7 separate regions of the Homo sapiens genome follow, and regions 1, 2, 3, 4, 5 and 7 are each linked to region 6. The links are contacts of gene promoters, found by promoter capture Hi-C in human tissues and cell types (Jung and others, 2019). All regions are on one chromosome and are shown on one strand. Each heading gives the region's core, a stretch centred on a gene start or on the middle of the fragment in contact. The rest is flanking DNA. Distances are from core to core; before and after follow the strand shown. Region 1 overlaps RBFOX2 (RNA binding fox-1 homolog 2). Region 2 holds the start of APOL4 (apolipoprotein L4). Region 3 has its middle 47 kb from the start of RBFOX2. Region 4 overlaps APOL3 (apolipoprotein L3). Region 5 has its middle 5.3 kb from the start of APOL1. Region 6 holds the start of HMOX1 (heme oxygenase 1). Region 7 has its middle 39 kb from the start of APOL3.

Evidence for each region. Contacts are between HindIII fragments. The study calls those that stand out against the background at their distance.
Region 1: a contact is called between a fragment that was not itself captured here and the fragment with the promoter of HMOX1 in region 6, in 2 of the 25 tissues and cell types used here (H1 embryonic stem cells and mesenchymal stem cells).
Region 2: a contact is called between the fragment with the promoter of APOL4 here and the fragment with the promoter of HMOX1 in region 6, in 3 of the 25 tissues and cell types used here (dorsolateral prefrontal cortex, mesendoderm cells and small bowel).
Region 3: a fragment that was not itself captured here is called in contact with the fragment with the promoter of HMOX1 in region 6 in 3 of the 25 tissues and cell types used here (aorta, bladder and dorsolateral prefrontal cortex).
Region 4: a contact is called between a fragment that was not itself captured here and the fragment with the promoter of HMOX1 in region 6, in 6 of the 25 tissues and cell types used here (IMR-90 fibroblasts, dorsolateral prefrontal cortex, heart left ventricle and 3 more).
Region 5: a contact is called between a fragment that was not itself captured here and the fragment with the promoter of HMOX1 in region 6, in 5 of the 25 tissues and cell types used here (dorsolateral prefrontal cortex, heart left ventricle, hippocampus and 2 more).
Region 7: a contact is called between a fragment that was not itself captured here and the fragment with the promoter of HMOX1 in region 6, in 1 of the 25 tissues and cell types used here (dorsolateral prefrontal cortex).

What each region holds. Positions count from the first base shown.
Region 1 is chr22:35,977,694-35,981,651 of GRCh38, forward strand. All of the region lies in intron 1 of RBFOX2 (RNA binding fox-1 homolog 2), which reads right to left. Among named protein-coding and RNA genes, the nearest start is that of RBFOX2, 49 kb to the right of the region's middle. The HindIII fragment of the contact is 4,397 bases long and covers 1-3,703 here.
Region 2 is chr22:36,199,657-36,203,781 of GRCh38, forward strand. It overlaps APOL4 (apolipoprotein L4), which reads right to left and starts at 2,153. Exons shown (of 4, transcript NM_001386885.1): 1 at 2,044-2,153. The coding sequence starts at 2,078. RefSeq lists an enhancer at 2,129-2,628. The HindIII fragment of the contact is 28,208 bases long and covers 1-4,125 here.
Region 3 is chr22:36,074,229-36,078,226 of GRCh38, forward strand. No RefSeq gene overlaps it. Among named protein-coding and RNA genes, the nearest start is that of RBFOX2, 47 kb to the left of the region's middle. The HindIII fragment of the contact is 4,053 bases long and covers 1-3,994 here.
Region 4 is chr22:36,142,709-36,146,271 of GRCh38, forward strand. It overlaps APOL3 (apolipoprotein L3), which reads right to left. Exons shown (of 4, transcript NM_145639.2): 3 at 2,765-2,891. Among named protein-coding and RNA genes, the nearest start is that of APOL3, 16 kb to the right of the region's middle. The HindIII fragment of the contact is 7,006 bases long and covers 1-3,563 here.
Region 5 is chr22:36,245,919-36,249,817 of GRCh38, forward strand. No RefSeq gene overlaps it. Among named protein-coding and RNA genes, the nearest start is that of APOL1, 5.3 kb to the right of the region's middle. The HindIII fragment of the contact is 5,646 bases long and covers 1-3,899 here.
Region 6 is chr22:35,379,443-35,383,199 of GRCh38, forward strand. It overlaps HMOX1 (heme oxygenase 1), which reads left to right and starts at 1,654. Exons shown (of 5, transcript NM_002133.3): 1 at 1,654-1,754; 2 at 3,664-3,757. The coding sequence starts at 1,732. RefSeq lists silencers at 1,375-1,454, 1,755-1,924. The HindIII fragment of the contact is 25,740 bases long and covers 1-3,757 here.
Region 7 is chr22:36,119,765-36,123,632 of GRCh38, forward strand. No RefSeq gene overlaps it. Among named protein-coding and RNA genes, the nearest start is that of APOL3, 39 kb to the right of the region's middle. The HindIII fragment of the contact is 9,372 bases long and covers 1-3,868 here.

The DNA.
Region 1 (3,958 bases), core at 255-2,754, 600 kb after region 6:
TACTGCATGTAAATTATACCTGAATGAACTATATATATATATATATATATATATATATATATATATATACATGCACACACACACATATACATATGTGTATACGTATAAAATCCCCCTCAAAAAAAAAAAAAGCCCTGTCCCCCTTCCGTCACAGAGGAGTTAGCACAGCAGCCAAGGACACAGGTAGGTGAGCAGCTGAGGAATCAAGGATGCACAGGACAGCAGGCCCAGAGGCCAAAGATAAGAGTGGTTGGGGGTCAGGGGGCACTGGAAGACTACAGGTAAAGCTGGGAAACTCTAGGGAGATTAGGAAGCCACAAGGAAGAATGGGCCAAAGGAGCCCATTGACTGAGGATTCCAGAACATGAGGAGTAGGGTACAGAGGTGGTGGAGTCAGCCATCGCGGTTGGAAAACTGGCTACACTGAGCAAATAAGTAAACATATTGGGGATAAGGGGAGCCAAGTTTTTCCCTACTGGAGAATATATTTACAAATATGGAAAGAGGTTGGCTGCATTTAATGGAGTTATCAGTGTGAATTCATGATTTTATAATATAAAATGCATTGTTTTATAATTTAAAATATGTAACACACACACAAACATCATGCATGTATATATACGTATATAGCACAAAGAGATATGGAAATATAGATGTATATGTGGTATATATGTGTTTATGTACATATGTATGTACACATACACACAATTTCTAGCTGTTTGCTGAGACAGCCTAGAGGCAAGGACACTCTAGTAGCAATATGCATACCCACCACCCAGATGTTGGTTTCTAATTACTATCCTCCATTTAAAAGAACCAGAGCTTCTTGGAAATGGCTGATTCCAAGGCTTTGGTAGGAAAAGTACAAAATAAACTTGGAAAACCTTCTTGTGGCAGAAAATAAGGAAATGTCCCATGAATGATGGGGACAGGTCAAAAGGACAAAGAAACCAGCATAAAGCAGGTCCCACTGGCTAAACTTTCAAGCTCCCTCAAGCTTGAGGAGTATAATTATAGAAATGGACTACAGCCCACTGAATAAAATAGTAATCCATGAGTCCATTTGATAGAAATAAACAAATGAAAAAGGGAAAGTCTTTGTAACAGAATGACATCTAACAAATACAGGCAGACACAGAAATAGAGGACTAGCATTTGACAGAATAAAACTGGTTGGTTCAGGAAAGAGTAGTCAATAGCGCTAAGGAGGTTAGGTATATATCTGTTGAGGAACAGGATAGTAGTATAATTTCAGAATACCTTTCCACAAGACAATAATCAATTACAAAAGGAAAAATGATGAATCTGATGTGGAGAAACCTGGCAGACATCAGCTTAACCAGCTGTTCAAGGTTAACAATATTACTGACAGTGGGATGCGGGGGACAGCATTTGCCTCCAGATATGATGCAATGAGAAGAGCATAGCATCATTGCAGTGGTATTCCTGCCGAAAATGATATTACTGCTGTCATGAAGAAACAGATGGACCCAGATCTAGACTCTTCAAAATGTCAAGGACATGAAAGAAAGGTAAAGACTGAGAAACTGTTCCAGGCTGAAGAGGTCTGAGGCGACATGCAACTAAATGCAACGCATATTCCTAGACAAGATACCGGACCAAAAAGGAAAAAGACATTGCTGGGACAGCTGGCAAAATGTTAACGAAGTCTGTGGATGGATGGTCGCGTTGTACTAATATTGATTTCCTGATTTGGAGATCTCTGCCAGTTATATAGGAAAGTCCTATTTCGGGGAATACACATTGAAGTGTTTGGGAGTGAAGGAATATCACATCTGCAGCTTGCTCTCAAAAAAAGCTCAGAAAAGGCACAATGAAAAAGGGTATGTATGTACACAAACCCCACACACAAACACACAGAGTGAGCAATGAAGCAGATGCAGTGAAATATTAACAACTGGGGAATCCGAGTGAAGAAAATCCAGGAGTTTGGGGTGTTTTGTGGGTTGTTAGCTGCTCTGGTAACTTTTCTGTAATGTGAAATTATTTCAAAATAAAGAATCAATGGAGAAAAAATAATAGCCACTAACAGGAATTTAAGAGTACAATGTCTTTGATTCTCACAACGAAAGCTGATCCTAAAGCTCAGAAAGGTTAAAACGTGGTTCAACAAGTGTCAGTGCCATACTAACTCAGTCTGTCAAACTCTGGAGCCTTTAATCTACTACACCATGCTACCTCATTCGACAAATAGGTAACCATCACGTAACGAAGTATGTGCCAATATCTTTACTTATCATTGAGGATGGAAAATCAATCAGACCATCCCTGCCCTCAAGGAATTCAGGCTAACAGAGATAGCCTTTACTTATAAACTAGTAAAGGGTTACTGGCGCTATGGTTTGCCTTTACTTGTACAGGGAATGTTGGGCCTTTACTCCACCACAAATTCATTATGACCTATTAAAAGATAACATTTGAGATGTATAAAAAAAATAGACCAAAGGCCACAACGGAATATACTTAGGTCATGTAGGTAAAAGATCCTATGTGATCAACACACACACATCTCTCCAAGGCTTGAACACCCATAAATAGGAAAAAGAATGGGGGGAATCTATATGAGTATATTTGGGGATCTCCAACTATTCCTTCCCTTAGGTTTTCATCCTCAGAGATGTTCCATGTTTTGTTTAAAGAGATCATTTTCTAAGAAGTAGTGGTTGTGGTGAGATTAGAACTATTTGGCCCAATTACTAAACTGGATAATTGCCAAAAGTTCTACCCTGGTTTTCTAATGGTTTTCTACTCAAAGCAAAGGAGTAACTCTTGTGTATGAAAGAGAACAGAAGTTAAATATCTACCAAAGCACAAAGCATCAGGTTTACTTTCAAAGCCAAATTTATCCCCAAAGTAACCAGGCTTTACCATCAATTAGGTGAAAATTAAGCGGTTTTCTTCTGGTTATAAATCAATTGGGGCGGGGGTGGGGGGTGCTATGTCTCTTGGTATTGCCCTGAGTTTTGCAAGCAGCTTGCATACAGACCATACACCATTTACAAGACAAAAAAGAGGAAGACCCAATAGTAAATATGACAATCTCTGCCCTCAGAGAACTTACAGTTTAGCAGGTGGGACAGACAAATTAAAAGAAAGGACATCTTCCAGACTGGAATGGGATCGGGCTCAGGAAAGGCTTCCTTGAAAACAAAATACCATTTGGCTGAGATCTAAGGAGCAACCTGACTTTGCACGCTTATGTATTTATGTTATGTGTTTTACTTTATGGAGAATTTTCTGAGTAGAGAGGTAAAAAGAGATACAAGAAAAATGGTAAAAAAGCACAGAGGAGAAAAAGATAGCAAGTGATTCCATTCTGTTGGGACATAAATACTAAGAAAGAAGCCTTTGAAAGGCTTTTAGTAGTGGAATAATAAATTTTTAATCACCAAAACAACGTTATGGTAGTAATTATTATCTTCATTTTACTAATGAAAAAACTGAGGCTTGAGAAAAGTTAGGTAGATTGAGCAAGGTCCCACAACAAAAAATATGCAGAGCAACTGTAAAGCCCATCCTCTTTCTGTTCTATTTCCCTCAGAGTTATACACAGAATGTAGCCAGTTCCTTGGATTTCACAGACAAATCACCTTTTCCCTAGATACTCAGCCCTTGGTATTTAATGCTTTCAAAAATCCAAACATTCAGCCAGGCGTGGTGGCTCACACCAGTAATCCCAGCACTTTGGGAGGAAAGGTGGGCAGATCACTTGAGGCCAGGAGTTCGAGACCAGCCTGGCCAACATGGTAAATCCTTATCTCTACTAAAAATACAAAAATTAGCCAGGTGTGGTGGTGCCCGCCTGTGGTCACAGCTACTCAGGAGGCTGAGGCATAAGAATCCCTTGAACCTAGGAGTCTGAGATTGCAGTAAGCCAAGATCATGCCACTGCACTTCAGCCTGGGTGACAGAGCAAGACTCCATTTCAAAAAAAAAA
Region 2 (4,125 bases), core at 903-3,402, 820 kb after region 6:
TCATTACAGAAACTACACAGTCTATACGCAGAAATAGAGATGGGAAGGAACGTTCTAACAATGACCGGAAACATGTGTGACAACTAATTGATGATAGCCAGTCTGTATTGAGTGTCTGTGATGTGCAGGGCTTCTTTTTTTATTTTTATTTTTATTTATTTATATTTTTTGAGACGGAGTCTCGCTCTGTCGTCCAGGTGGAGTGCAGTGGCGCGATCTCGGCTCACTGCAAGCGCCGCCTCCCAGGTTCACGCCATTCTCTTGCCTCAGCCTCTCGAGTAGCTGGGACTACAGGTGCCCGTCGCCACATTCGGCTAATTTTTTGTATTTTCAGTAGAGAAGGGGTTTCACCGTGTTAGCCAGGATGGTCTCGATCTCCTGACCTCATGATCAGCCCGTCTCGGCCTCCCAAAGTGCTGGGATTACAGGCGTGAGCGGTCGCGCCGGGCCTGTGATGTGCAGGGCTTCTGACATGTGTCTCATTCAATGATCACACACAGCCCGGGAGATGGGTACCACTTTCCCATTTGAACACAGAGGAATCCACAAAAGTTAGGGAACTTGCCAGTGTTTTCTATTGCTAGAGCCAGGACTTCTGCTTCAACCTCATGTCTTCAATGACTGTGCTCTACTCCCTTAAATATACAATATTGAGTCATGTATACACGCTCATGGTAAATGACTCCTCATTGCAAATCCATGTCTCACACTCCGTGCTCAACTTTTCGTCTTGGTGAATTCACTGGTGCTGCAGTGGACAGCCTGTGTCCCCCTTGCTTCTCTAAGATCCTTTGTCCCACAAAGACCTGGATCCTGCCAGATGCCGGCCTAGCCCCTGCTGTGGCTGCCGAGCCCTCCTGGCGCTGCCCTGTTCCCTCTGCTGTCCTCCCCTAGCTGATGGACCTTAGGGTGTTTCTAATTCTTCATGTAAATTATGCTACAAAGAACACCCTCCTTCACGTAAAACTGCCCACATTTGATTTTATTTCCTTAAGATATTTGTAGGAGTAGAATGACTAGGTCAGAGGGTATCAACATCTCAAAATGTTTTATACCTAGAGCCACACTACATGCAAATTGTACCAATTCACACTCAAACTAGCAGTATATGAAGATGCCCATTCTTTCAGTCTTACTGGCTCTCAGTAGTCTCTTTATCAGGACAAAAAATATATACACAACATGTAAATTTGAGAACTAAATATCTTGTTATCAATACCAATTAGTACAAACTTTAAGGCACGAAGGTAGCAGTTGAGATGTGAAGCACTGAACAAAGGAGAAGGAGGATTAATATTGTCATTTTTTAAAGATGGAAGTTAAGAAATACTGGGTACAACTGAGGGTATAAGAAAGTTGTAAGTAAATTGTTTACAGCTACAAAGTTGCTAATGGAAGACATAAAACTGGTGATAGAATGTTAGGAAAAGGTGGAGAGGAGAGATAGAGGGAGGGTACAAATAAGATGAAAATGACTAATAATGATACTATAAATAATAACAATACCATTTCAGGCCCATCCCAGTTAGGGGCGGCTCCAAGCATTACCATTGTTCTTTTCTCACCGTGTGTCTCTGCGCACTCCCTGGCACACCCACTTCCAGCAGCTGGTCTTTGTTTGCAGACTTTATTTTAACAGCTCAGTGGTTCCCGGGCCCCCTGATGGGGTTCCATCCTCCAGCTCTCATACTAAAGCCCCCTCCTCAAAAGCCACTCGCCTCCCTCTTTCCCTTTCCTGCCTTTGTCTCAGGGTTCAGACACACAGATGTCTGTCTTCTGGGGCCCCCATGCAACAAGGGTAAAAGGGGGACCCAGTCCTGGGCAGCATTCACCAGGGGAGTATGCAGAGGGGCGTCTGGGCGCTTCTTGCTGTAAGGGACAGGGGTGACAGGAGAGGGGCATCCCTTCGCCTTCTTCCTGCTTTGTTCACTGTGTGACCCCCTAGGCCAAGGCAACCATCTCAACACCATGAGCCAGTAGAACTGGGAGGACCAGGAGAGAGCAGAGGAGCAGGAGGGCAGAGAGCTGGGGCCTCGGACTCACCCGACGCTTGTGATGAGCTGCACCCAGGATCCCATCCTCCTTGGTCATTGTTGGCCTGGCTCAGACGCTGATCTGGGGCCTCTGCTGAATGTTGAGGCTGGATACTGACTGTTAGCCTCAACTAGGACACAGTGCGTCCCCTCTAGGCGAGTCTACCAGTTGGTCAATTCCGGGAAGTGATTTTGGTTCCTAGAAAAACCCACATGGCTCCTGGCCCAGCCCAAGCCCTGCCCAATTGTGCAGCCCAGACAGGGAGCCCTCCCTCCCACCTCAGGGCTCTGAGCCAAGCTCACCAGATGCAGACGACAAAGATTTTCAGCAAAGCAGCTCCCTCCATGTCGCTGCGGGGCCTCCTCCTTGGGCAGGAAAAGAGGGGTTGAGACAGTGTGCTCCTCCTGAGAAATCACCATTTTCATTTCATTTTTAATAAACCGTTTTGCTGTGTCACCCAGGCTGCAGGGCTTTGACGCCATCCTAGCTCATTGCTGCCTAGATCTGCTGGGCTCAAGTGATCTTCCTCCTTCAACCTTCTGAGTAGCTGGGACTACAGGTGCACGCTACCATGCTGGGCTAATTTGTTAATTTTTGATTTCATAGAGACAGCATCTCCTGTGTTTCTCAGGCTGTCTTGAACTCCTGGCCTCAAGTGATCTTCCCGCCTCTGCCTCCCACAGCACTGGGATTACAGGCTTCAGCTATAGTGCTTTCTATCTTGATGGGCATCTCTTTTTGGTGAAGAAAAATCAGGCCGGGAGCGGTGGCTCACGCCTGTAATCCCAGCACTTTGGGAGGCCGAGGCAGGCAGATCACAAGGTCAGGAGATGGAGACCATCCTGGCTAACATGGTGAAACCCCATCTCTACTAAAAATACAAAAATTAGCCGAGTGTAGTGGCGGGCGCCTGTAGTCCCAGCTACTCGGGAGGCTGAGGCAGGAGAATGGTGTGAACCCGGGAGGCGGAGCTTGCAGTGAGCAGAGATTGCGCCACTGCACTCCAGCCTGGGCAACAGAGCGAGACTCCATCTCAGAAAAAAGAAAAAAAAAAAAAGAAAAAGAAAAATAAGACCACGACTCAGATTTCACAGAAATTACCCCCCTGATTTCATGGACTTTTGGCAGCTCTATCAGGTTTCTGAGAGGGGAAAATCTTAGGCTGGGAGGGGAGGTGACTTGCCCAGAGTCGCACAGCTCTTGGAGAGCAGACGGGAAGCCAACATCTGCCCTTGTGACTCTGCTATTGAAGAAAAACGGGTGATTTTAGTAATCCAACAGTGTCCAGGTTTGATTCTGCTTCTACAAACACAGAGATCTAAGCTCTCACTCCTGTAGTTACACTCACAATTCCACAGGTGGCTTTTGAATCTCATGATTACAAAGCTGGCGTCATGCCACAGGCACCATTCTGCAATGCGACCTTCTCACTCCCCTGTCTCAGCCATGTTTCCTATTGCGGGATCTGGCCAGCAGCCCCCAGTGCAACGGGGCTCTCTCTTTGCTCCTAGGCGGATCGGCAGGTTGAGAAATAATAGACACACACAAGATAGTGAAAGCTGGGTCCAGGGGGGTCACCGCCTTCTGGTCAACAATGCACTGGATATACCAGCATTTATTATTCAGTTTAGTGAGGGCGGGGGTAGGTTAGTGAGGGATTTAGGGTCATTTGATTACGAGGTGGGATGGTCACATGGGGATGAAGTAATTCTTTAACATAACATTCGTATGTAGAAGTACAGTGCATTTGTATGTAGAAGTACAGTATACAGAGATAAGAATTTACAATATAGTGTGTGCGTCAGTAATTTCTAACAGAGCCTTAAAACAGAAACACAATCTTTCCATAACCTATGATTAGCAAGATATTAATCAGCAGTAACAATTGCAACAAAAGCTGGTTACTGACAATCCATGGAAACAGGACGTGAAGCTAGATAACCGGTTAGACTAGAAATTCTCAGAAGGGAGTATACCTGAACCCTAAAGATGCCTAGAAGAGCCACGGCAAGATGATAGCATTTATAGCCCTAGCTTGTCCATATGGACAGGCGCCCCCCTGCATCCATTCATAGGCTCTCTGCAGGGGGA
Region 3 (3,998 bases), core at 718-3,217, 700 kb after region 6:
GTGGGAGAATTACTTGAGCCCAGGAGGTTGAGTCTGCAGTGAGCCATGATCATGTCACTGCATTCTAGCCTGGGCAACAGAGAGAGATCCTGTCTCAAAAAATAAATTAATTAAATTAAACAATAAAGGAATGGGCTGGGTGTGGTGGCTCACACCTGCAATCCCAGCACTTTGGGAGGCGGACGCGGGTGGATCACCTGAGGTCAGGCGTTCAAGACCAGCCTGGCCAACATGGTGAAAACCCGTCTCTACTAAAAATACAACACATTAGCCAGGCGTTGTGGCAGGCGCTTGTAATCCCAGCTACCTGGGAGGCTGAGGCAGGAGAATCACTTGAACCCAGGAGGCGGAGGTTGCAGTGAGCTGAAATCGTGCCATTGCACTCTAGCCTGGACAACAAGAGTGAAACCCCGTCTCAAAAAAAAAAAAAAAGGAATGATGTACTGATACAGGCTACAATGTAGATGAATTCTGAAAACATGTTCAGTGAAAGAACTCAGACACAAAATGTCACTTATTAAATGATTCCCTTTATATGTAATATCCAGAATAGGTAAATCTATATAGAGAGAATGCAGATCAGTGGTTGTTAGGGACTAAGGAGAGGGGGGAACGGGGGAGTGACCGCTCAATGGATATGGGGTCTATTTTGGGGGTGATGAAAACGTTTTGAAACCAGATAGATATTATGCTTGCATAAATAACATTGTGAATGAAAAAATACCACTGAATAGCGCATTTTTTAAAAAATTTTGAGACAAGGTCTCTGGCATGAGGTGGAGAATGCTACGAGTTTTTTGATATCATTTTATGTTAGAGCACAAATTGCACTCTGCCATCCAGCTGGGAGTGCAGTGGCGCAATCTCAGCTCACTGCAACCTCCACTCCCCCGGTTCAAGTGATCCTCCTGCTTCAGCCTCCTCAGTAGCTGGGACTACAGGTGTGTGCCACCACGCCTGGCTAAGTTTTGTATTTTTAGTAGAGATGGGGTCTCACCATGTTGGCCAGGCTGGTTTCGAACTCCTGGCCTCAAACGATCCACCCACCTTGGCCTCCCAAAGTGCTGGGATTACAGACATGAGCCACTGTGCCCCGTCTGAACAGTACATTTTGAAATGGCTAATTTTATGTTTGTGAAATTTGTCTCAATAAAAATAGAAACATACATCATGAGAGGTCATTCATGTACATCCAGTCATATTGCTTTTTTTATCTGATTTAGTGTTGTCTTCATGTCAGTCACCCTCTCCCTAGGAACTTGGTACAAGATCCTGGGCCTGGGGCTAGGGTAGAAGGCAATTTGACAGCATTCCCCAGGGCTGCCTGCAGTTCCCCCCGCCCCTCCGATCCCCCAGCAAGTGAGGAAAACTGCCCCTCCAGGAAAGCTCTTCCACCTGGTACCTGCCGAGGAGAATTACAGCATTCATTAATCAGGGCTCTTTGTGGCAAGGAACAGAAGTACCTACGGGCTGATTAAGCAGAAAAGGATGTTAGCTCACAGAATTTTGTTTCTTTTTTGAAACAGGGTCTCACTCTGTCTTCCAGGCTGGAGTGCAAAGGTGTGAGCAGGGCCAAGCAATTCTCCCACCTCAGCCTCCCGAGAAGCTGGGACTAGAGGCGTGCACCATCATACCTGGCTAGTTTTTTTTTATTTTCAGTAGAGATGGGATCTTGCTGTGTTGCCCAGGCTGGTCTCAACCTCCCGGGCTCAAGTGATCCTCCTGCCTTGGCCTCCCAACGTGCTGAGATTACAAGGGTGAGCCATTGTGCCCAGCTCACAGAATTTTTGAGGGGCTGGAGGACCTGGTTGTAGGCAAAGCTTCCAGGATCAATTCCCCCCAGATAGCCACAGAAACAGCTGTTAAGCAAGATCCCACCACTGCTGCGGGATAAGCAAAATGCTACCACTGCCGCTGCTCCTGTGAGACATTTCTGCACCCAGGATTTCACTCTAAAGCTGAGCATCCTGCCGCCACTCTCACCACACAGAGCCTCCTTCTTGAGTTCACACTTCCTTTTCCTCGTTTTGGTGGGACTTGCCTGCTTGGTGGGACTGGATCACATGTCAGTGCCCGAGCTTCAAGGAAGCCTGGGAAGCCAACATTTCTGGATTTCACCATGGGGAGATGGGGCCCACAGGGCCGGACATTTCTCAAATATAGGAAGGGGTTGAAAATGTGGTGGGTGACATGGTTTGGCTGTGTCCCCACCCAAATCTCATCTTGAATTCTCACGTATTATGAGAGGGACCTGGTGGGAGGTAATTGAATCATGGGGTCAAGTCTTTCCCGTGCTGTTCTCGTGATCTGATCGTGAATAAGTCTCATGAGATCTGACAGTTTTATAAAGAGGAGTTCCCCTGCACAAGCTCTCTCTCTCTTTGCCTGCTGCTATCCACGTAAAATGTGACTTGCTCCTCCTTGCCTTCTGCCATGATTGTGAGGCCTCCCCAGCCCTGTGGAACTGTAAGTCCATCAAACCTCTTTGTTTTTTTTGGTAAATTGCCCAGTCTCGGTTATGTCTTATTTATTTATTTATTTATTTGTTTCTTTGTTTGTTTGTTTATTTTTGAGACACAGTCTCACTCTGTCGCCAGGCTGGAGTGCAGTGGCATGATCTTGGCTCACTTCAACCTCTACCTCCCAGGTTCAAGCAATTCTCCTGCCTCAACTTCCCGAGTAGCTGGGATTACAGGCACGTGCCACCACAGCTGGCTAATTTTTGCATTTTCAGTAGAGACCGGGGTTTCGCCATGTTGGCCAGGCTGGTCTTGAACTCCTGATCTCAAGTGATCCACCCACCTCAGCCTCCCAATCGGGTATGTCTTTATCAGCAGTGTGAAAACAGACTAATACAGTGGGTGTACAGAAAATACATGATAGAGAGACAGCATTTATTATTCCTCACTTGTTGGAAGGACCCTACGCAACCCTAGCTCATTTGACAATGTCCCTCTCATTATATACCTTGGGCCTTTTGCATATAGAGACAGCCCTGGTTTTTGACTGTCCAGAACCTTTATATCTGCCCCTCCCCAAAACAGAGAGGCCTCATACATCTGTCAGTAATAAAGCCAACCCTCTCGTATTTACTGGGTAGATAAGTAACTGAGACTGAAACGCCACTGTATTCCATTTCCCTGACCACAGTGATTGATTCAGAGGGAAGCCTATGACAAAAACAGCGCCAGTCAGAATGTTCCCTGGCATTGATACAATGACTCGGGGGAAAGAGCAACTCTCTTTTGCCCTGGGGTTGTTAAACTGGAAGGAAGAAACTATTTGCAGTGGGAGAAAATTAGGTCAGCCTAGAGTGAAGCAGAGATGAGAGATGGTGAGAAAGCCAGGAAAATATGGTTTCATCTTTTGGATCTAGCTAAGCCTGAAGTCATTACATCTCTCGTTTTTAATCACACGAGCCAATAAATTCCTTTGAAAGCTTCAGTGAGTTGGAGTTGGATTTCTCTCACAACCGAGTAATCGTGATCAACCACCCTCTCCCTAATGGGAAATTTACTATGGGCCACTTTTCTATCCATTGTCTCATTTGACAGTAGATTTGAAAGTTAGGAGGGAGAGGCTAGGCGCGGTGGCTCATGCCTGTAATCCCAGCACTTTGGGAGGCTGAGGCAGGCAGATCATGAGGTCAGGAGTTAGAGACCAGCCTGGCCAACATAGTGAAACCCTGTCTCTACTAAAAGTACAAAAAATTAGCTGGGCGTGGTGGCGGGCACCTGTAATCCCAGCTACTCAGGAGGCTGAGGCAGGAAAATTGCTTGAACCCAGGATGTGGAGATTGCAGTGAGCCGAGATCGCACCATTGCACTCCAGCTTGGGCGATAGGAGTGAGACTCCATCTCAAAAAAAAAAAAAAAAGAAAAAAGAAGTTAGGAGGGAGCATTAACAATAAAAGAACTATGACTGGACACAGTGGCTCATGCCTGTAATCCCAGCACTTTGGGAGGCCAAGGTGGGTGGATCACTTGAGGTCAGGAGTT
Region 4 (3,563 bases), core at 182-2,681, 760 kb after region 6:
AGGACAGCTTGTGATCCAGCCCCAGAAAGAGCTCTGTACATTGAGGCATAGGTTGAGAAAGACTTTCTCCTTGGCCAAACTCCAGTCAGGCTGCTCTGAGCCTTTTCTCCTCTAGGCGCTGACCTTCCATGCCCATCCCGTGCTTGCTGGGCCTGTACTGCCCCAGTTCAGCAAGAATCCCCCAAGGCAGTTAGGGAGGGTCCTCCCCACTTGCTGTCTGAGCATTCTTGCTGTCTGATCACGGTCTTCACCCGCTCCTTACCTGCCTTTAGTTGAGCAGCTTGTTAGGCCAGTTTAGCAGAAACCCCCCATTCTGGTGTCTCCAGTCAGAACTGGTCCATCTCCCACTCCTCACCCTGGTGTTGGCTGTGACTCCCCCTCTGTCTTTACTATATTGGGAGCTGGGCTCAGTCTCCCTCCCCTGTAACACAATCCTGAATAAAGGCTTCCTGATCTAATGTGATTCACAGGAATTTTTCCTTAACTGGGTGAGCTTCTCTGGTTGGCAACACCCCATGTGTTTTGTCCCACATTCACACAGGAGAACACAGCGTCCTGAGGACAACGAAGCTTCACACCTGAAACCCTCCCAGACTCTGCCCTGTGTGTCTCTTCCTTAGGCTGATTTTAATCTGTGTTCTTTCCCTGTGATAAACCACAATCGTGCAATAACAGTTATCAGTGAGTTACGTAAGTCTTTGTAGTGAATTATCAAACCTGAGTGGGGGCTTAAGAAACACCTTCAAATCTGCAACTGGTGTCAGAAGGAAGGGTGCCTTCAGACATTGCATTTTGACTAACTCTGAGTCCTTAAGCTATCAAATAAAACCTCAGACTGGAAGAGATCACCTTGCCTGGCATGTTCTCTCTTCCAATGCCACATGCCCTTTGATCTTCTGACTGAAGGCCACTGGGTCCAGCCACTGCCCCCTTTGACTGAAAAGTGAAAGGCCTGGCTATTAGTCCTGGCTGCACATGAACTCTCAAGCCACTTGACGGCCTCCTGACCTGGCACCTCCAAGCTTCAGGGTCTCACTGTCACATGTCACCAGCCAAACTAATGCCTTAGCAGGTGACAGCTTCACCTGTGTGCATGCCAATGCCATGTGCAATTTCATGGAACCTCTTATGGACTCATGAGACTTTGAAAATCATCTCTATAAATCACTAATGCTGAAAAGACCTGCATTTGGACAAGATGATAGAGAAAGTGTTTTTCTCTTTGGTTGGGGACTTGTGAGTCTCCTGAGAACCCTTCAAATTACCCAGTTGGCAGACACTTGTTCCAACTCTCCAAGCTGGCCCGAAGAAACACTTCCTCTACTCTATGTAGAACAGAAGAGGGTCCCAAATGGCAGTTCAGAATGCCCCAGTTCCCAGGCATGCTGTCAGGGAAACAGTCACCCATGGCCCACTATGCCCATCAGTGATGGGATCAAATCAGGGAGGGAAGAAATATCCCTCTCCCACTCACTGGTCCTCTGCAAGTCCATGGCCACGTTACCTTTCATGCCCTCAGTGCCTCCCTCTTCTCACCCTACTCCCAGCCTTGGTGCCCGAGCCTTCCTGCTGCTCCTCCAACCCAGGCCCACCCCTGCCCCATCCTGACCCCTGGCTCTGCCCCTGAAACGTCTCTCTGGGTCTTTGGATGGCATCATGCTACTTGGTTCCCCACCTCTGACCTGCTGTTCATTCTCAGGCTTTAACCACACGCCCATCTGATTGAACTACTATTAGCATTGGAGAGATGGCAGGTCCCAGTCTCCAAGACATAAAACAACAGCCCCAGAGCTGTGCAGGGACAGAGCCAAGATCCACCCCCAGCTCTGTCCAACTCCATTCCAGCCTCTCTGTGTTCTGTGTCAGCAGGAGGATCCTGCTGTGTTTGTGCAGTTCCTCAGAGGTGGAAGAAAAGGGCCCCGGACAGCATCTCCAGGAACACACATTGATCAGGTCAAGATTTTTCTGGCTTTTTTCAAAGAAAGTCCTGCTGGGCATCCAACTCTAAGAAAAACACTTGGTCGGGCGCAGCGGCTCATGCCTGTAATCCCAGCACCTTGGGAGGCCGAGGCGGGAGGATCACGAGGTCAGGAGATCAAGACCATCCTGGCTAACACGATGAAACCCCGTCTGTACTAAAAATACAAAAAAAAATAGCCGGATGCGGTGGCCGGAGCCTGTAGTCCCAGCTACTTGGGAGGCTGGGGCAGGAGAATGGCGTGAAACCGGGAGGCGGAGGTTGCGGTGGGCCGAGATCATGCCACTGCACTCCAGCCTGGGGGACAAGCAAGACTCTGTCTCAAAAAAAAAAAAAAAAGAAAAAAAAAGAAAAAAAAAGAAAAACACTTTTGGTCCTGGTCTCTCCCCAGCAATCTTTTTAAAAGGTAACATTAACGGAGCACCTACCATGTGTCAGTCATTATGCTAAATACTTTACATGCATTAGCTTATTTTTCTCACAATAAAGCTCAATGGATGAAGAAAGGAAGGCAGAAAGTAGTCAAGTAGCTTGCAAAGCTCCCATCACCAGTAGATGGCAGAACTGACCCTGCCCTTGTGGGCTTCCTCTCCCCTCAGCCTGAGGTCACTCACTGCCAGCGAAGGACTTGGAGGAAATATTCCTCCTGGACTGCTGAGAGGGACATTCTCAAGTTCAGCAGAGGGGGCTGCCTGGAGGAGGTGTGCCTGCCAGAGAAAACTAGCCCAGGGGAGATCAGGATGGCATAGCCGGGGCGCCCCATGGAGGTAACCCCACGGAGGTTACCTGGGCAATTCAGCCGCAGTCACGAATCTCTTCCAGGCTTCATTGTTAGTCAGCAGGATTTGCAGATGCACTGGGCTGACTCTCTCCCGGAAGTATTTGGTGGCCTCTTCAGTAAAGCGTTTCTTTTCTACTTGGAAACAAAAAGCATAAGATTGGAAGAAAGTGTGCTACAGCCTAAATGGCATTGAGAATAAGGTGGTTCGAGGTTAATCCTCCTCAACCAGCTGTCACATGGGGTATTTTTGATGGAGGCATCAGTGCTATAGACTGAGTTGTGTGCCCTCCAAATTCATATACTGAGACCCTAAACCCCAGTAACTATATTTGGAGATTGAGCCTTTAAGGAAGTCATTAATTTAAAGAGAGTCGTAAGGGTAGGGCCCTAATCCTACAGGACTGGTGTCTAGTTAAAAGAAAAAAAAGAGGCAGAAGATCTCTCTCTCTCTCCTCACCCCACCCCGCCCTCGCTGTCTCTCTTGCCTTCCAGCCCTCTCTCCCTGTCTCTCTTTCTCTCTCTCTCTCTCTCTCTCACACACTCACACACACACACACACACACACATACACCCCCCACACTGGGAAGGCCATGTGAGGACACAGCCCTGAGGCAGCCTCTGTAAGCCAGGAGCAGAGCCCTCCCCAGACATCAACCCTGCTGGCACCTTCACCTTGGAATTTTTGCCTCCAGAACTGTGAGAAAATACATCAGTTGTTGGAGCCACCCAGCCTGTGGCGTTTTACTAAGGCATCCTGAGAAGAGTGATTCACCAGGGAAGTGCCATGGTGCTTTGTGGAGGAAC
Region 5 (3,899 bases), core at 1,375-3,874, 870 kb after region 6:
TCCATAAAATTGCACATGGCCTTGGCAAGCACAGAGGTGAAGCCATCACTCCTTAGGCATCGATTAGGCTGGTGACATCTGAAAGTGAGACCTGGAAGGTTGGAGGTGCAGGTGGTAGGTCAGGAGGCAGTAAGGTGGCTGGAGAATCCATGTGGACTCTCCAAAACTAATAGCCAGGTCTCCTCCTCCAGTCAACTGGTGCGGTGCTTGGAACCAGTGACCATCAGTCAGAAGGTCAAAGGGCATGAGGCATTGGAAGAGAGCAGATGCCAGGCAAAGTGATCTTGTGTAGGTCTGTTTTTGGTTTTGTTTGAATTCTGAGTACTCAGAGTTACCAAAACTGCAATGTCTGAGGGCACCCTTATCTTTGACACTAACTGCAAATTTAAGGGGATTCCTAAATCCGTCCTTAGATTTTATAATTCACTAGAGGAATTCACGTAACTCACTGAAAACTGTTATTGCATGACTGTGGTTTATCACAGGGAAAAAACACAGGTTAAAATCAGCCTAAGGAAGACACACAGGGCAGAGTCTAGGAGGGTTTCAGGTGTGAAGCTTCGTTGTCCTCAGGAGGCTGCGTTCTCCTGTGTCAATGTGGGACAAAACACATGGGGTGTTGCCAACCAGGGAAGCTCACCCAGTTAAGGAAAAATTCCTGTGAATCACATTAAATCAGGAAGAAAGCCTTTATTCAGGATTGTTGTTACAGGGGAGGGAGACTGAGCCCAGCTCCCAATACAGTAAAGACAGAGGGGGAGTCACAGCCAACACCAGAGTGAGGGGCAGCAGATGGAACAGGACTGACAGGAGGCACCAGAGTCGGGGGTTCATGCTAAACTGGCCTAACAGGATTTTCCCTAAAGGCAGGTCAGACACTCACCCATCAAGGGGCAGGTGAGGAGAGTGATCAGATAGCAAGTGTGCTCAGACAGTAAGAAGGGAGGACCCTCCCTAAACTGACTCGGGGGGATTCTTGCTGAGCCAGGGTTGTGCAGGCCCAGCAAGCACGGGATGGGCATGGAAGGCCAAGGTTGGTGCCTAGAGGAGAAGAGGCTCAGAAGAGCCCAACTGGAGTCTGGTCAAACAGAAAGTCTTTCTCAACCCATGCCTTAGTGTCCAGAGTGTTTGCTGGGGCTTGACCACAGGCTGCACTCATGGCTGACCTGGAGTTTCCAGCCCCTCCCTGAGGTCTCACACCTTTAGTCCCCAGATCCTCTGGTGGTGAGAAGAGATACCCAATAGCCCCAAACCCCCATCATCCATCACATTTGCTATACTGTCCTGTAGCCAAACCACCAGGGAAACAAAGACATTCCTACCAGGCAGGGCATTCCAGGGGCCTGGAGATCACTTCGCAGGGGTAGGGGACAATGGGAAGACCTCTCCTGGGATAAAGTTAATTCTTCACTGCGCAATTGTAGTGCAGTGAAGATTCTATTCCCAGAGGCCGGGGAAGGTTTGCAATTGCTTTGGTGCAGTGGGGCATGGGTAAACTTGCACCTTAGCTATAACAGCAGACAGAACAACCATAGTACAAATACAGGTAGTCAGTTGTGCAACTGTGTATTGGTAGACACAATGACAGCACATCACCGGCTAACCCCACAATATGGGGTGACTACCTGTACAACAATGTCACCAAGCCCTTGGGTTAAGCAATGATACATGGCTGGGTTGGTAGAATAAGTCTCTGCATATGGGTGCCTACCAATCCCCATGGAGATGGAGATGGCTGTGGGCCTGTGTCACCCACCCTTGGCCTTATTTGCCATTCAACTGGACTGGCAGATGCATCTCAGGGCATCCTTAATTGCCACAGTATATAGTTCCCCATTTAGACACGACCCCCAGTAACTGGAAAACGGTAAAAGCTAGAGATTACCAGATATGTGCATACTGGTGGTTCTACCCCTTGGCCATCTTTGCCTCCAAAGTGGCAACTGTAAATGCAGAGCTGCAATTCGTGTGCTGGCTAAACACACAGCTGCAGCCTTCAATGATACTCACCATCGTTTTACACTTCCCAATCAAGAAACCACCCAGATCAGGCATGTTCCTCTGCAAAATCGTATGACCCAAAATCATACAACTGCTGCCCATGGTGGAGCTTGTGCATTAATTAAAACAAAATGTTGTGTATATAGCCCTCATTACTCTCATAACATAACACAGGCTCTGCTGACGTTAGATACCCAGAGTCCAGCCACAGAGTCTTTGTCTTATGATCTTATCACCTCATGGTTTAATCAACTCCCAGACACGTGGAGAAACTTTGTATCTAGCGTAATTGCAATTGCGTTCATAATCCTTTGTTGAGGTTAGTGTTGCTGCTGGGGTGTCTGGCTGCAATGCTCTTCCACAAAACTGGCCCCAGGAAAATCACAGAAAAACAGTGTGATGAGATTGTGAGGGCCATTCAAGGCTATGCAGGGGTGTGGAGAGCATGGTGGGCATGTCCCGTCAGACAGCAATAACTGAAGCATCCCCTAAGAATAACCCTACATTCCTTGGTGAATTTTTGCTCAGTGTTCCAAGGTATGGATCCCGGGAATGGCCAATCCAGATGTTTACATCATACTTATGAAGAACTCTGTTCCTTGGATCAGAGGTTGTGCAAGGAATCAAGACCTTTTGTTTTGGGCTAGGTGGAGGTTTCCTGGCAGAGGTGCTAAGTGGAGGTTGCTCTGGGAAGAATATCATATAACCTGCATGCATTTGACAAACAGGAGGGGATTTCTTGTCTTGCCTGCTGCTCCTGGGCAACCTGTACATAAGCTCCCTGAATAAAGCTTATGTCTCACCTGCTGTCTCCAGGTCTTTTCTTCTGTCTCTCCAAGTCTGTGTCCTGTCAGCTCATTAGCATAGGGGTCCAGCATGACAAATATAAAACGGTGTTTAACATTCTTTGGATTATGTTTATATAAATGTGTTATTAATATGTGTTCCAAAATTGTACGAGATTCTATAGGTCTAATATGTCTTGGCATATGTTATCAGAAACTATTATTATTATTATGTTAAGTAGTTGTTTGCCACAGAAATAAAGTAATTTCCTTGTCGAATGTGTCTTTACCAATGCTGTTCTCATACTTTTGTTATCTGCAAAAAGTGTTTACTTTACATCTCAAAAAACAGTTTATGATCAGCTACAGATTGTGCCATCGGACTAAGAAAAAAATAAATCTTCCAGGACTGTAATTCAAAAGTTGATGTGGTCATGAAGATTGCTAACCCAATATCAAGTGGAAGAAGGTTATTACATGGGAATGAATTAATGGAGAACAAAAATAAATTTTTAATGACTTTTTGTTTAATATACGACTGATTCTTTTGTTTTGTTTTTCTTAGTCAAGAAAACTTCTTTTTCCCTTTGGGCTCCATGTAGCTTTTAACAATTGAATAAAGTATACTCTTGTGAGCAAAATTTGAAGCATATTTCTTTCTCACTATCTGATTTCTCCAGAATTTGGAAACTATTTGTGAGTATTCTTAGTTCATGGCAATAGAGTTATTTGCATAAGTTCAGTTGGAATCTGTTTTCTTTCATAACAGGACACAACTAGAGACACTGGTTATTTTACCAAGGCTTTGACTGGCATGGCATATTTCCACATGTACGTAGGCTGCTTTGAGTAATGGTGGCTGGCTTATAGAGCCGATGAAAGCCTCTTTGAAAAATTTTCCTCAAACTTTGCCTATACAGTTCCTTTACAGGGTTCCTGTCCTGTGGTAAGTAAAGAATGTCACTTTCTGACAGGCCCAGGAAGCCCAAGTTACCTTGGGACCTTGAGGAGAAAGGAACTCACCTAATATATATAGGCATCTGCAGGCAAATATAAATCACTGGCTGAGCTTGAGATTTTAAAAGGCCTACTCTGAGATATCTTATGAAAAAG
Region 6 (3,757 bases), core at 404-2,903:
TAGCCTCTGTACTCCACTGGGTTACAGGGTCACCATTCTTCCGTGATTACCCCATTACAATACATTTTTGTATGTCTTTTCTCCTCTTAACCTGACTTTTGTCGGTTGGTTTTCGGGGAACCTTCAGAGGAAGAAGGGGAATTTTTTTCAAGGCCCCTTAGCTCACCCTTGGGAGGATGATCCTTTCCAATACAATCTCAGAAGTGCCTCTGGGCTGTAGTGGCCCTAGGCTGAATTCCAGGAAGTTTTTTTTTTTTTTTTTTGTTTTTTTTTTTTTTTGAGGGACAGCGTCTTGTTCTGTTGCCCAGGTTAGAATACAGTAGCGTGGTCACAGCTCACTCCAGCCTCTACATCCCAGGCTCAAGTGAACCTCCAGCCTCAGCCTCCCAAGTAGCTGGGACCACAGGCATGTGCCACCATGCCCAGCTAATTTATTTTATATTTTGTAGAGACAGGGTCTCCCTATGTTGCCCAGGCCAGTCTCGAACTCAAAGCAATCTTCCCACCTCGACTGGGCTCAAAGCGCTCTTCCCACCTCAACCTCCCAAAGTACTGGGACTACAGGTGTGAGCTACCATGCCAGGCCTGAAAGCCATCTTAAAAAAAAAATCTTAGAATGAGAATCACAGTATTGGGAAAGGACTGTATGAATCATCTGGTCCATTCGTTTTGTCCTCTGGGTTCACCCAGTGACCCTATTTCCCCCGAGTTCTAAGGAGTCCACCTCATGCAGAATTGATTCAATAGGCGATCAGCAAGGGCCAGCTCTGCTCTGGGCCCTGAGCAGGCACTGAGTATAAGTCAGACCTGAATGTGCCTGGAAGAGTGTCCCACGCATTCCAGCAGGGAAGCAGTTTGTATGACAGGTGTCCCAGTCCAGGCGGATACCAGGTGCTGCCAGAGTGTGGAGGAGGCAGGCGGGGACTTAGTCTCCTCCCTGGGTTTGGACACTGGCATCCTGCTTTATGTGTGACACCACTGCACCCCTCTGAGCCTCGGTTTCCCCATCTGTAAAATAGAAGCGATCTACCCTCACAGGTCAGTTGTAGGGATGAACCATGAAAATACTAGAGTCTCTGTTTTTTGACAGGAACTCAAAAAACAGATCCTAAATGTACATTTAAAGAGGGTGTGAGGAGGCAAGCAGTCAGCAGAGGATTCCAGCAGGTGACATTTTAGGGAGCTGGAGACAGCAGAGCCTGGGGTTGCTAAGTTCCTGATGTTGCCCACCAGGCTATTGCTCTGAGCAGCGCTGCCTCCCAGCTTTCTGGAACCTTCTGGGACGCCTGGGGTGCATCAAGTCCCAAGGGGACAGGGAGCAGAAGGGGGGGCTCTGGAAGGAGCAAAATCACACCCAGAGCCTGCAGCTTCTCAGATTTCCTTAAAGGTTTTGTGTGTGTGTGTGTGTGTGTGTGTGTGTGTATGTGTGTGTGTGTGTGTGTGTGTGTGTGTTTTCTCTAAAAGTCCTATGGCCAGACTTTGTTTCCCAAGGGTCATATGACTGCTCCTCTCCACCCCACACTGGCCCGGGGCGGGCTGGGCGCGGGCCCCTGCGGGTGTTGCAACGCCCGGCCAGAAAGTGGGCATCAGCTGTTCCGCCTGGCCCACGTGACCCGCCGAGCATAAATGTGACCGGCCGCGGCTCCGGCAGTCAACGCCTGCCTCCTCTCGAGCGTCCTCAGCGCAGCCGCCGCCCGCGGAGCCAGCACGAACGAGCCCAGCACCGGCCGGATGGAGCGTCCGCAACCCGACAGGCAAGCGCGGGGCGCGGGACGCGGGACGGGCGCCTTTCTCTCCCAACCCTGCTTGCGTCCTAGCCCCACCCCGGGACACTGCCACACAGCGACAGAGCCCAGGAGCCAGAAACTTGGGCTCTGGAGTCAGGAGGTGCGGGGTTCTGATCCTGCCTGTGCCCGTAGGGTAGTTGGAGGGAGGAACGGTAATTTACATGCCTGGCACCCTGGTATGCGGTTGGTGACCAAGATGGGAGTGTCCCTAGAGTATCCAGTCTTTGAGGTAGCCAATTTTTTTTTTAATCCTACTTTCGAGGTGTGTTTGGAGTTGCTCTCTGCTGAATCTAGATCTCTGGGGCTCTGCCAGCCTGGGGGAGCATGCTTGGTTCTCTTGGTGGCATCTGTCCCTCACTAGCTACGGAGGACCTGAGCCAGACATCACCCTGGCTGCGGTGTTCCATGTCTCACAGATAGCCCAGTTCAGGGAGGCGACATGCCCAAGAGTGCTCAGTTAGCTGGTGTCAGAACTGGGCCTTGAACCTTGGTCTGCCCACCTCCAGGTCTCACTCATTCCCTTCTTTCAATAATTTGTTAGTATTTTTTTTTTTAACTCCTGGGCTTAAGCATCCTCCCACCTCAGCCTCCAGAGTAGCTGGGACTTACAGACATGTGCCATTTCTCCTGAGACTTTGACCAGCTGTGTTGTAGAACAGGGAAGCAGGGCAGGAGAAAAGGGAAAAATGACAATTCTGTGGGGAGGCAGGGATACGGACCCATGACAGAAATACTCCCAGAAAGACTTTTTCTTTGACTAAAGCAGACTTTCTCAGGCTTTTTAACCCTGACGCCTTCATGATGAGCATAACATGATAGGGGGTCATGAGATTTGCATCTGGAACTTTAACAAAATAACTGAATTAAATATTGGGTCTAAAAGCCAATCAAAGCAATTACAAACTTGGAGATGCCGGTTCATGGGGCTGCTGCTTCTTCCTGGGTTATGCTGTACCTCCTCCTCCTCTCCACTGCGAACTACCTGTACCAGGATTTCCCCCTTGGTTTGGGGGACTGTATTATTTAGTGTTTTAATGACTGAAGAGTGTTTACAAAGCTGCGAGAGCCACCATGCCCAGCCTGAATTTGTTTTTTGTTTTTTGTTTTTTTGTTTTTTTGCTTTTTTGCTTTTCTTTTTTTGAGATGGAGTGTTGCTCTGTTGCCCAGGCTGGAGTGCAGTGGCGCGATCTCGGCTCACTGCAACCTCTGCCTCCTGGGTTCAAGCGATTCTCCTGCCTCAGCCTCCCAAGTAGTTGGGATTACAGGCGCCCACTACCATGCCCGGCTATTTTTTTTTTTTTTTTTGTATTTTTAGTAGAGATAGGGTTTCACCATGTTGGCCAGGCTGGGCTCAAACTCCTGGCCTCAGGTGATCTGCCCGCCTCAGCCTCCCAAAGTGCTAGGATTACAGGCGTGAGCCACCATGCCTGGCCCTTTTTTTCTTTTTTTTTCTTTTTTTGAGATGGAGTCTCTCTGTCACCAAGTCTGGAGTGCAGTGGTGTGATCTCAGCTCACTGCAACCTCTGCCTCCGGGATTCAAGCAATTACAGGCATAATTGCTGGGATTACAGGCACCTGCCACCATGCCCGGCTAATTTTTGTATTTTTAGTAGAGACGGGGTTTCACCATGTTTGCCAGGCTGGTCTCGAACTCCTGACCTCAGGTGATCCACCTGCCTTGGCCTCCCAAAGCGCTGGGATTACAGGCGTGAGCCACCGTGCCCAGCCACAAGGCTGCATCTTAAAGCGATTGAGAACGTGGCCTGAATGAGGATGGGAGTCTCTTGAAGGCCTGCCCACAGGTGGGAGGCTCAGCAGTTGGGAAGGACCCCACCCCCAGCCAGCTTTGTGTTCACCTTTCCCATTTCCTCCTCAGCATGCCCCAGGATTTGTCAGAGGCCCTGAAGGAGGCCACCAAGGAGGTGCACACCCAGGCAGAGAATGCTGAGTTCATGAGGAACTTTCAGAAG
Region 7 (3,868 bases), core at 1,069-3,568, 740 kb after region 6:
GCCTCCCAAAGTGCTGGGATTACAGGCGTGAGCCACCGTGCCTGGAAAATTATTTATTTTTAAGATTTGTTAAGTGTAGTCATGAGAAGCGGGAAAGAGTAGAACAAGGAGTTTTATCTGCTGTGACTGAACAATCAATTGAGATAACGCGGCACCTTCGGATCAGCTGATTCCATTTATCTAACATTCTTAAATGGACCCACTTATAGACATGAAGAATAGATTAGCAATTGCCAAGGCTAAAGTAGGGATCAGGGTGGGAGAGAAGTGGGTGAGGCTATAAAAGGACAACAAGAGGGATTCTTGTGGTGATAGAAATATTCTATATCTTGATTATATCAATGCCAATATCCTGGTTGTGATATTGAAGAGGCTAAAGCTGCATTTGGTACAATAAAATACAATTAGCAGCCTATAACCCCAAAGGAGAAAACTGGCCAGTTGTGTATTAAATCTTTGTGTGTTTGCATATGTGACATTTAAATGCTTAATTTATATGCCAACATTTAGCATTTTTCCAAGATGTTACTATTAACGGAAACTGAGTAAAGGGTACATGGGATCTCTCTGGATTACTTTGTACAAATGCAAATAAAAATGTTAATTTAAAAAAACAGAATGAGGCCAGGTACGGTGGTTCATGCCTGTAATCCCAGAGCTTTGGGAGACCAAGGTGGGAGGATCGATTGAGGCCAGGAGTTCAAGACCAGCCTGGCCAACCAGCAAGACCCCATCTCTACAAAAAATTAAAAAATTCAGCTGGGCATGGTGGCGTATGCCTGTAGTCCTAGCTACTGCAGAGGCTGAGGCAGGAAAATCACTTGAGACTGAGAGGTCGAGGCTGCAGTGAGCAATGATGGTGCCACTATACTCTAGCCTGGGCAACAGGGCAAGAGAATGAGGCAGACAGGAGCCCAGCCTGGCAGGAAAGGGAGGTTGTATTAGTCAGGGTTCTCCAGAGAGACAGAGCTAATAGGATAGATGTATATATGCAGGGGAGTTTATTAAGGAGTATTGACTCACACGAACACAAGGTGAAGTCCCACAACAGGCTGTTTTCAAGCTGATTAGCAAAGAAGCCAGCCAGAGTCTCAAAACCTCAAAAGTAGGGAAGCTGACAGCGCAGCTTTTAGTCTGTGGCCGGAGGCCTGAGAGCCCCTGGCAAACCACTGGTGTAAGTCCAAGAGTCCAAAAGCTGAAGAACTTGGAGTCTGATGTTCAAGGGCAGGAAGCATCCAGCACGGGAGAAAGACCATGGAAGGGAGTGAAGGCTGGAAGACTCAGCAAGTCTAGTCCTTCCAAGTTCTTCTGCCTGCTTAATTCTAGCCGTGTTGGCAGCTGATTAGATGGTGCCCACCCAGATTGAGGGTGCGTCTGCCTCTCCCAGGCCACTGATTCAAATGTTAATCTCCTTTGGCCACACCCTCACAGACACACCCAGGAACAATACTTTGCATCCTTCAATCCAATCAAGTTGACACTCAATATTAACTATCACAGAGGGCTTCCAATGCAGTGACAGTTGACATGAGTCCTCAAGGTTAGTTTGCAGGTCACAAGGGAGAGAAGGACAGGAGGCCTGAGGCAGGCAGGACAGCATGTGATAGTGGGCTGTTTGGGTCTTCCTTCCCCAAAGTCATCCTGGGATGGTGAGATCTCCGGCCATTCATTCCATTGCACAGAGGCATTCATGCAGGCTACCTCCCAACTTGTTCATAAAAATGTTAAGTGATGGACAAAATAATGTCTTTACATTTTTCTTAAACGTTTGGTTCCTGCTGCTGCTTATCTGGTAGAGAGGCTCATCAGAGGAGAAAATGAAGGAAGATTCCCTTGTCAAACATCACAACAGAGAGCAAGCATCTTTGTTCAGCCTGTCAGGATCATCTTTCACATTCAATTTAGAAAAATGGCAGATGTTAATGTTTTTCCTGTTAAGAGATAATTTCTTTTTAAAATGTTTGTTTTTTTTTTCCCCTTACTATGCCTAGTCCTGCTTTTTATATGATAACAGCCTAGGAGTGGAAAGAATGAGAGTTTGGGTGACAGAGATCCTTACATTTGAATCTCAATTCCACTTAGAGGCTATGGTCATGACTTAGAGGCTATATTAAGACCACTTAGAGGCTATGGTCATGACCTTGAGTCCGTTTCCCTGAGTTTCACTGCCTCAGACTAATCATACCGAATAGGCCAGTATTGCCAAATCCCAGTGCTAGGATGGGGATTAATGAGAAAACATTTGCCAAAAAACCTAGTATACCTTGTGTAATACCTGACACGTAGTAGGTGCTCAATAAGTGATACTCATTGATTTATTTTTTTATTTTATTTATTTTATTTTTTTGAGACCGAGTCTTACTCTGTCACCCAGGCTAGAGTGCAGAGGCGTGATTTCGACTTACTGCAACCTCTACCTCCTGGGTTCAAATGATTCTCCTGCCTGGGCCTCCCGAGTAGCTGGGATAACAGGCGTGTGCCACCACACCTGGCTAATTTTTATATTTTTAGTAAAGACAGGGTTTCACCATGTTGGCCAGGCTGGTCTTGAACTCCTGACCTCAGGTGATCCGCCTGCCTCAGCCTCCCAAAGTGCTGAGATTACAGTTGTGAGCCACCACGCCTGGTCAATAAGTGATACTCATTGTTAATAACAATTCTAGTTCATCTAAGGATTTAAAGCTGTGTACCTTTCATAGTGTTCTACAAACAGCTTCCTGATTTCCAGCAGCTTTGCTTATATCAGCCAGGATAGTCTAGGTTATGCTGCAGTAAAAAACAAGCCCCTAGGCTGGGCACGGTGGCTCACGCCTGTAATCCCAGCACTTTGGGAGGCCGAGGCGGGCGGATCACCTGAGGTCAGGAGTTTGAGACCAGCCTGACCAACGTGGTGAACCCCTGTCTCTATTAAAAATTCAAAATTAGCCGGGCATGGTGGTGCATGCCTGTAGTCCTAGCTAGTTGGGAGGCTGAGGCAGGAGAATCGCTTGAACCTGGGAGGTGGAGCTTGCAGTGAGCCAAGATCGCGCCATTGCACTCCAGCCTGGGCTACTAGAGCGAAACTCTGTCTCAAAAAACAAAACAAAACTAAACAAAACAAAAAAACAAACCAAACAAACAAACAAAAACCACCAAAAAGCAAGCCCCCGATCTCAGTGGTTCACAACAGCAAAGGCTACTTCTTGCTCACGCTACATGTCCATCATGGGGCAGGTGCCTCTCTGCTCCGGTTGTCTTCCCTCCTGGACTCAGTATCATGGAGCAACCACTTTCTGGAAGATTGCTGGTTGCCACAGTAGAGGAAAAGGGTCTTATATCAGCATTCATTGCTGTGGCTTAGAAATGACACATATTATTTCCATTCAAAACTCTTTTGTCCAGAACTGGTTACATATTCCCACCCAACCATAAGGAGACCAGGAAGAATAATCCCACTGTGCATCTGGAAAGGGGAAAAGCCAGACAAATGTGGCCAACAGCCCCAGTGACTACCACCACAGTGCTTTTGAAAACCACTGCCCAGAGCCAGAAGGATGGAGGATCAGCATGGCGGTAGGAGGAAGGGAGAAGCCAGAGGGGAATGAGGAGGAGCCGGGGTGCCTGGTATGGAGGGCCATCCATCCTTGGTCAATGTGCAGGGCTGGGGCCAGAGGAAGGCTGGGCGCCTTTCTCATCTGGACCCAGACCCAGACAGACCCCGGGGCCATTCCGTTCTGCAGGCAAACAAGCCAGTCCCGCTAGAATGTGGCAGTCACAGGCTTTCAACATGGAAGGTGGAGCTGCCTGGACGCTGTGTTTTTTTTCTGTTTGTTTTTTTGAGACGGAGTCTTGCTCTGTCACCCAGGCTGGAGTGCAGTGGCATGATCTG